Regions from separate parts of the Homo sapiens genome. Here region 2 is linked to region 1. Evidence: promoter capture Hi-C in 16 types of primary human blood cells and fetal thymus (Javierre and others, 2016). All regions are on one chromosome and are shown on one strand. Each heading gives the region's core, a stretch centred on a gene start or on the middle of the fragment in contact. The rest is flanking DNA. Distances are from core to core; before and after follow the strand shown. Region 1 holds the start of SMU1 (SMU1 DNA replication regulator and spliceosomal factor). Region 2 overlaps NOL6 (nucleolar protein 6).

The links. Contacts are between HindIII fragments. The CHiCAGO score rates a contact against its expected background, and 5 or more counts as called.
Region 2: a contact is called between a fragment that was not itself captured here and the fragment with the promoter of SMU1 in region 1, in 6 of 17 cell types (naive B cells, non-activated CD4 T cells, fetal thymus and 3 more). The highest score is 6.6, in naive B cells.

The regions. Positions count from the first base shown.
Region 1 is chr9:33,074,995-33,079,203 of GRCh38, reverse strand. It overlaps SMU1 (SMU1 DNA replication regulator and spliceosomal factor), which reads left to right and starts at 2,530. Exons shown (of 12, transcript NM_018225.3): 1 at 2,530-2,621. The coding sequence starts at 2,596. RefSeq lists enhancers at 2,149-2,348, 2,519-2,668. The HindIII fragment of the contact is 3,581 bases long and covers 1-3,573 here.
Region 2 is chr9:33,468,100-33,472,308 of GRCh38, reverse strand. It overlaps NOL6 (nucleolar protein 6), which reads left to right. Exons shown (of 26, transcript NM_022917.5): 2 at 1-103; 3 at 189-305; 4 at 2,118-2,297; 5 at 2,642-2,810; 6 at 2,968-3,102; 7 at 3,188-3,351; 8 at 3,437-3,557; 9 at 3,743-3,801; 10 at 3,887-3,988; 11 at 4,164-4,209. Among named protein-coding and RNA genes, the nearest start is that of MIR6851, 2.3 kb to the right of the region's middle. The HindIII fragment of the contact is 4,549 bases long and covers 436-4,209 here.

The DNA.
Region 1 (4,209 bases), core at 1,281-3,780:
ATAGGAGTCATAAGAAGAGAAGCCATTCCATTCAAAATGAAAGCAGAGGTGTGGTGGATATTAGAATAAAACCTGGTGTTAAGTAATCATAGAGAAGATTTATTTGTATAAACAAAATAGAGAAGTAACCTGAATTTAAGAGTAACATGACAAGTACTAGGTAGAGAAAATGAGGACATATGCTATTGTTGCGATGAGCTGGGTCTTCTTTTCAAGGAAGAAGTTATAATAATTTTGTGCTGTTATGGGATAGAATAGTGAAGGAGTATCTCATAAACCATATAACCCATGTTGATATCTCACTACATGTCAAGGCAAGCATGGAGACTCTAAAACATTTGAAACCTTGGAGACCATGTCCTTCAAGAATTGATAGGAAATAGAGGATGATTTGACAAAAGAAGCAGTATTTAAGAGGTTATGGACAAGTTGTATGGCAGACCTTTAGGCACAGAATCAGATAAGACTGAAAGCCATCAGGAAATCTACAAATACATCATTTCAATATGTAATTTCGGAACACAGATTTATTTTATTTATTTATTTATTTATTATTTTTTGGTCACTCGGTCACCCAGGGTGGAGTGCAGTGGTTCGATCTCTCCTCACTGCAACCTCTGCCTCCCGGGTTCAAGGGATTCTCCTGCCTCAGTCTCCCGAGTAGCTGGGATTACAGATGCACACCTATCTGCCTGGCAAATTTTCTTATTTTTAGTAGAGACGGGGTTTCACCATGTTGGCCAGGCTGGTCTCCAACTCCTGAACTCAGGTGATCCACCCGCCTCAGCCTCCCAAAGTGCTGAGATTACAGGCGTGAGCCACCACGCCTGGCCAGATTTATTATTACTGTGCTGCAAATAATTTTTACAATTTATATACAACAGCAATAAAATATTTAAAAATAGGTTTTATGTATGAAGTTCACTGATATCTCTACATTTCATTTGTCACTACAAATGTAATAATGTGTTTGACCTAAAGTCCCGTGACAGGGCGTGGTGGCTCATGCCAGTAATCCCAGCACTTTGGGTGGCTGAGGTGGGAGGATTGCTTGAGCTGGAGGGGTCGAGGCTGCAGTGTGCCACGATCGAGACACTGCACTCCAGCATGGGCAACAAAGCGAGTCCTTGATTCAAAAAAACGCAAAACCAACCAACCAACCAAAATCCTCAATTAACTCTTCCTATAAATTTTGGCTAGTGTTATGTTGGTTTTGAATGTATTAATATCCCATCAGGTATTGCATATTCAGCCTCATCTTAAATCTAATCAACTAATTACATCAAACGAAAGCAACATTGGCTGGGCGCAGTGACTCACGCCTGTAATCCCAGCACTTTGGGAGACCGAGGCGGGCGGATCACGAGGTCAGGAGTTCGAGAACAGCCTGACCAACATAGTGAAATCCCATCTCTACTAAAAATACAAAAAATTAGCCTGGCGTGATGGCAAGAAACCTGTAATCCCAGCTACTCCGGAGGCTGAGGCAAGAGAATCTCCTGAACCCGGGAGGCAGAGTTTGCAGTGAGCCGAGATCGCGCCATTGTGCTCTTCAGCCCGGGCGACAGTGCGAGATTCCGTCTCAAAAAAAAAGCAATCTTTCCAAACCAGTGCTCTTTCTTTTCTTTCTTTTCTTTTCTTTCTTTTCTTCTTTCTTTTCTTTGCTTTTCTTACTACAATCTTATCACCACTACTTTTCTTTTCTTCTTTTGAGACGGAATTTTGCTCTCCTTGCCCAGGCTGGAGTGCAATGGTGTGATCTCGGCTCACCGCATCCACCTCCAGAGGTGAAACGATTCTCCTGCCACAGACTCCCGAGTAGCTGAGATTACAGGCGCCCCCGCCACCACGCCCGGCTAATTTTTTGTATTTTTAGTAGAGACGGGGCTTCACCATGTTGCCCAGGCTGGTCTCGAACTCGCGCGCTGGGAGTACAGGCGCGAGCCACCGCGCTCCGCCCCAGCGCTTTTCTTTTTCAGTACATTTGTGAGCTGTATGGCGCCCGGTGCTTTTTTTCTTTTTCTTTTCTATCTTTCTTTTTTTTTTTTTTTTTTTTTTGAGACGGAGTTGCGCTCTTGTTTTCCATGCTGGGGTGCAATGGCGCGATCTCGGCTCACCGCAACCTCCGCCTCCTGGGTTCAAGCGATTCTCCTGCCTCAGGCTCCCGAGTAGGGATTACAGGCATGCGCCACTACGCCCGGCTAATTTTGTATTTTTAGTAGAGACGGGGGTTTCTCCATGTTGGTCAGGCTGGTCTCGAACTCACGACCTCAGGTGATCGCCCGCCTCGGCCTTCCAAAGTGTTGGGATTACAAGCGTGAGCCACCGCACCCGGCTCCGGCCTGCTTTTAAACAGTCTTCCTCCTGATGCGTATTTCTCTGGGGCAGGGGCATAAACTCCGCCCTCTGACAGCCCCTGAGGGCTCCGCCCCTACGCGAACCTCGCCCCTACTCTTCGTTCACTCTATCTCCAGAGCGGGAGCCAGACGCCGACCCAAGCGGAAGTGACGTTAGGTGTCCGCCGGAGGTGTCGTTGGTGTGTTGCGCGACTGGCCTTGAGGGAGAGCTGGGGCCTGCTCCCGGAGAGATACGGCTATGTCGATCGAAATCGAATCTTCGGAGTGAGTCCTGCGGTGGGGATGTTCGCGCCTTGCCGGGGGCCTGGAGGTTAAGGGTGTGGGGCGGAGGGTACTCGGGAGAAGGCATCCGAGAGGCCAGGGAGTGGAGGGCCATTTCCTTGCCCCCAAAGAAGCATCTTGGATCTCGCTACCTCGGAGGTGGGCCCACAGGAAAGTAGCAGCTCTCAGACGTGAAGCCCAAAACCTCGAGGGAGGTGGCACGGGTGGGGAAAACACACCTTGCAGACCTAAGTTCTGTCCTTGGCCGACTGCTGGCGCGCTGTGATTGACCAAATTAAGGATCCACTCTGGACTCCAGTCTAATTATCTGCGCAAGGGGATAGGTCTCTTTAAGCCTTGCTTCTCTCCCTGTCCAGCTTATGCAATGTGATTCGTTGTCTCTGCTTATACGGCCCCTTTGCTTTTCTCTGCCTAGCGTTTATCACTCAGTATTGTCACTGTTTGATAACCTCACCCCAAACTAGCCTTTGTCGGTGCCTAGGAGCTCCTTTTCCTTGTGGTCTCAGTGTCTAGCATACCTTAGAGGAAGAGTTAATTGCTTTTGGAATGAATGAACAACTAGCTTTTGGAATGAATGAACAACTATCAGGCCCGATCTGGCACGGAATTTTGGGTTGTCTGGGGAGAGACAGACTGGAGACTGGGCTAGAAAGAAAAATTTTCAAGGAATAGGGGATGAGAATTAGTGACTAAAGAAGACCTTAGTGTGCTTTTCCAGAACTCCATCCTCCACCTGTCCTTGCCAACACTTAATAATAATTAAATTAACAGACATAAAAATTGTGTCTGAGTGTAAGGGAGGGAGAGGACCTTTTTTGGAGACTTTTCATAGGAGGAAGGGAGGTTTATGCATTCAGCAAATACTGAAATGATGTTAACCTACTTGTCCAAGGTCACATAACTTTGATTCAAATCCCAGACTATCTTCAAAGCTTCTAGCTCTTTATGTATTCATTTCTGTTTGAAGGTAGGGAATTTGATTTTGGCTATGTCAAATGTGAGCTGTTTGAGGAGAGAGATGACTTATTTTGGGAGTGTAAAATGGAAGTCAACGGACATGTGCTAAGGAAGATAGTATCATAGCAGAATAACAGGGGTCTAAGTCTGGATACCTGCATACCTCATAAAGGGGCCATGAGAGAAAAAGACTACTGCAGGTAGCAGCAATCAGTTCCCTTTTTTTTTTTTGAGACGGAGTCTCACTCTGTCACCCAGGCTGGAATGCAGTGGCGCGATCTCCGCTCACTGCAAGCACCGCCTCCCACGTTCACGCCATTCTCCTGCCTCAGCCTCCCGAGTAGCTGGGACTACAGGCGCCCACCACCATGCCCGGCTAATTTTTTTGTATTTTTAGTAGAGACGGGGTTTCACCGTGTTAGCCAGGATGGTCTCGATCTCCTGACCTTGTGATCTGCCCGCCTCGGCCTTCCAAAGTGGTGAGATTACAGGCGTGAGCCACCGCGGCCGGCCTATAGTTGTTTTTAAGAAGAGGGGCCAGGTGCGGTGGCTCACACCTGTCATCTCAACACTTTGGGAAGCTGAGGTGGATGGATCACTTGAGCCCAGAAGT
Region 2 (4,209 bases), core at 1,461-3,960, 390 kb before region 1:
GAAGCTCAGCAGGGCAGAACTGTACAAGGAGCCTACCAATGAGGAGCTTAATCGCCTTCGGGAGACTGAGATCTTGTTCCACTCCAGCTTGCTTCGTTTACAGGTACTGTTGAGTGTCTGCAGCTTTTGTTCGAGGTGTGTACCTGGGACCCTGAGGCTGATGGACTGTCTTCTACCCTCTCTTACAGGTAGAGGAGCTACTAAAGGAAGTAAGGCTGTCAGAGAAGAAGAAGGATCGGATTGATGCCTTCCTACGGGAGGTCAACCAGCGGGTTGTGAGGGTGCCCTCAGTCCCTGAGACAGAGGTAAGCAAGTGGCCTGGGGAACTGGGAAGCCCAAGAGAGACCTCCAGTGGGGGTATATCAAACAGGGGCCTTGCTGTTACTCTGTTTAAGGGTTGGGGTGCAGGGAGCTCATTCTCACAGCAAGGAAGCTTAGCTGGGAGCGTGGTCATTTGTGTATTCATTCAGCAAGTACTTCCATGCCTTGCAGTATTTGTGTTCTTAGGATATATCAGTAAATAATAGCCTATGCTGTAATGCTGAGGTTATAGTTAATAGATAAGCATAACAGGTAAACTCTATGGCAATGTTAGAATGTGGTAAACACTGGAAAAAGGAAAAAGTAGGACGAGCAATGTAAGGGGATTGGGAGTATTAGAGGATGGGAGTGGTTTACAAGTTTAAAGGGGGTGTTCACAAAGTAGGCCTTATTGAAGTGACATTTGTGTAAAGACTTGAAGTAGGTGAGTCAGCTATATAGATATCTAAGGGAATAAAAGCATTCCAGGAAGGGGGAACAGCCAGTACAAAGGCACAAAGGCAGGAATGTTCCAGTTACATTCCTTGGAATGAATGAGGAATACAGAAGGAGATGAGTTCAGAAAGGTGATGGGGAAAAGTAGCATATCATGCAGGGCATTGTGTCCCGAAGTAGGGACTTTGGCTGTTGCTCTGGGTGAGATGGGGAGCCACTGCTGGATTTTATTTTGCAGAACAGTGATGCCCTCTAACTTTTAAAAGTTCACGTTTTTGTTTTTGTTTTTGAGACGAAGTCTCGCTCTTGTCCTCCACACTGGAGTGCAATGGCGCGATCTCAGTTCACTGCAGCCTCCACCTCTCGGGTTCAAGCTATTCTCCTGCCTCAGCCTCCCGAGTAGCTGGGATTATCACACCCGGCTAATTTTTTTGGTATTTTTAGTAGAGAGGGGGTTTCACCATGTTGGCCAGGTTAGTTTTGAACTCCTGACCTCAGGTAATTTGCTCTCCTTGGCCTTCCAAAGTGCTGGGATTACAGGTGTGAGCCACCGTGCCCAGCCTAAAACGTTCACTTTTCCAGCCTTAAAAAGTTTAGTTTTAGAAAAATTTACTCCGGCTGTTGTGTCAAAAGTAGAATCGAGAGGGACAATGATGAGATTAGAGAGACCAGTTAGGAACTAGTCTAGGCACTGAGAAATGGTGGCTCCTCAAACTAGGGAGGAAAGTAGTGAAGTGATCCATTTCTTTCTTTTTTTTTTTTTTTTTTAAATCTTTTCCTCTCTCTGTTTTAAAAAAGTTTTCTTTTTAGAGAAGTGATCCATTTCTGAATACATTTTGGTAGTAAAATGGGTATTCTTTTTTTTTTTGAGACAGAGTCTTGCTCTGTTCCCCAGGCTGTAGTGCAGTGGTGCGATCTCGGCTCACTGCATGCTCCGCCTTCCGGGTTCACGCCATTCTTCTGCCTCAGCCTCCCCAGCAGCTGGGACTACAGGCGCACGCCGCCATGCCCGGCTAATTATTTTTGTAGAGACGGGGTTTCACCGTGTTAGCCAGGATGGTCTCGATCTTCTGACCTCGTGATCCGCCCACCTCGGCCTCCCAAAGTGCTGGGATTACAGGCGTGAGCCACCACGCCCGGCTCGTAAAATGGGTATTCTTAACAGAGCTAAGTTAAGGTGATTTAAGTGGTTTTGGCTTGAGCAACTCATATGGAGTTGTCTTAGCAAGGAAGACATAGTTATGGGAAGATTGGGAGTTTGGTTTCAAACATATCGATGTGTTAAAATGTCTTCTAGACATAAAGGGTACATGTGAGGAAGGCAGTTGAATCAGTATGTGTCCCTGTCTCTGCCCCCACAGCTCACTGACCAGGCATGGCTCCCAGCTGGGGTTCGAGTGCCCCTCCACCAAGTGCCCTATGCCGTGAAGGGCTGTTTCCGCTTCCTGCCCCCAGCCCAGGTTACTGTTGTGGGCAGCTACCTTCTGGGCACCTGCATCCGACCAGACATCAATGTGGATGTGGCACTGACCATGCCCAGGGTAAGGTCCAGGGTTTAGGGGATAGAGGCCCACCACCTGACTACCTACAAATCCTGGATCCCTCTTTCTTATCTGCCGCTTGCCAGGGGATTGAAGTCAGAATTCTAAATCAGAAGAGCAGACCATTGCAGGCATCCTGAAGGCAGCTTAGATCCCTCGGGCCAGTTGCTGTCCTTTTGGAGCTTTGCTCTCCAGATATGAGAACTGGGCCTAGTGTTGCTAACCGTGGCTCAGGCACTTCTGTCAGCAGAGGAGCCCTGGCTCTCTCACCTTGGTTTCACCTTGGCCCACAGCTCCACAAGCACTTATGTGCCTGGCCTTCTCTTCTCCCCTGGCCCCTCCAGGAAATCCTACAGGACAAGGACGGGCTGAACCAGCGCTACTTCCGCAAGCGTGCCCTCTACCTGGCCCACTTGGCTCACCACCTGGCCCAGGACCCCCTCTTTGGCAGTGTTTGCTTCTCCTACACAAATGGCTGCCACCTGAAACCCTCACTGTTGCTGCGGCCGCGTGGTGAGAGGCACACATTGGGCTGAGGGCATAGCATGGGATGGTAAATCTGGAGGAGAAGGCACAGAGGCACGGAGGCCTCAAGTATGGGGGGACAGGATGGGGAGCCCTCTGGCTCCAAGGGCTCCTGCAGAGTCTCAGCACTCACTGTCTCTGGCAGGAAAGGATGAGCGCCTGGTCACTGTACGTCTGCATCCGTGCCCTCCACCTGACTTCTTCCGCCCGTGCCGCTTGCTGCCAACCAAGAACAATGTGCGCTCTGCCTGGTACCGAGGGCAGAGTCCTGCAGGGGATGGTGAGCAGGCCCTGGTGTTGAGGTGGAGCTGGAGGGAAGAGGTGTGGGGACTTTTCCTCTCATGGCTTCCCTTTTCATCCCACAGGTAGCCCAGAGCCTCCTACCCCCCGCTATAACACATGGGTCCTGCAAGATACAGTTCTCGAGTCCCATTTGCAGCTGCTGTCAACCATTCTGAGTTCAGCCCAGGGCCTGAAGGATGGCGTGGCACTTCTGAAGGTCTGGCTGCGGCAGCGGGAGCTGGACAAGGTGAGTTGGGGGTGGCGCAGCCTCCCTACCTGAGCGCCTGTGTGATGGGCAGGCTCTGACCTCAGCCTCTCCCTGTCTCTTTCAGGGCCAGGGTGGGTTTACTGGGTTCCTTGTCTCCATGCTGGTTGTCTTCCTTGTGTCTACACGCAAGATCCATACCACCATGAGTGGCTACCAGGTCCTGAGAAGTGTCTTGCAGTTTCTGGGTGAGGCAACTAGGTGGGGAAAGGCCAGGGGCTCCACTCCTCCTGGGAATCCTCTCATCCCAGTAGCAGTCTTTTGGTGTTTTGCCATCAGACAGATGAGCAAACTGAATCGGCTGAGGGAGGGTGTCATTAGGGCTGGGTCCCCAGAAGGGGATACCTTCTAATACACTTGTGATTCACTTCAGCCACTACAGACCTGACAGTCAACGGGATCAGTTTATGTCTCAGCTCAGATCCCTCTTTGGTGAGTTGGGGAAGGGCCAGGTCTATGCCAGGAGGCCTGCAAGTAAGGTGCCAATCCTGACCTGCTTCTCTCTACACCCCCCAAGCCGGCCCTGGCTGACTTCCACCAGGCCTTCTCCGTTGTCTTCCTGGATTCCTCAGGCCATCTCAACCTCTGTGCTGATGTCACTGCCTCTACTTACCACCAGGTACCAATGGGCCCCCAATCTGTGTTCCCCTGATGTCTCAGCCCAGACTCTGTCCCTTTTGCAAGTACCAGAACCCCAGAAACTCCTCTTCAAAGAGTTAAGTTTAGGGCATGTCTCCTGGTCTAAGCCCTTGGATCAATGAAGGGCACAGGGATGGTCCCTTCTGTGGCTCCAGGTACAGCATGAGGCACGGCTGTCTATGATGTTGCTGGACAGCAGAG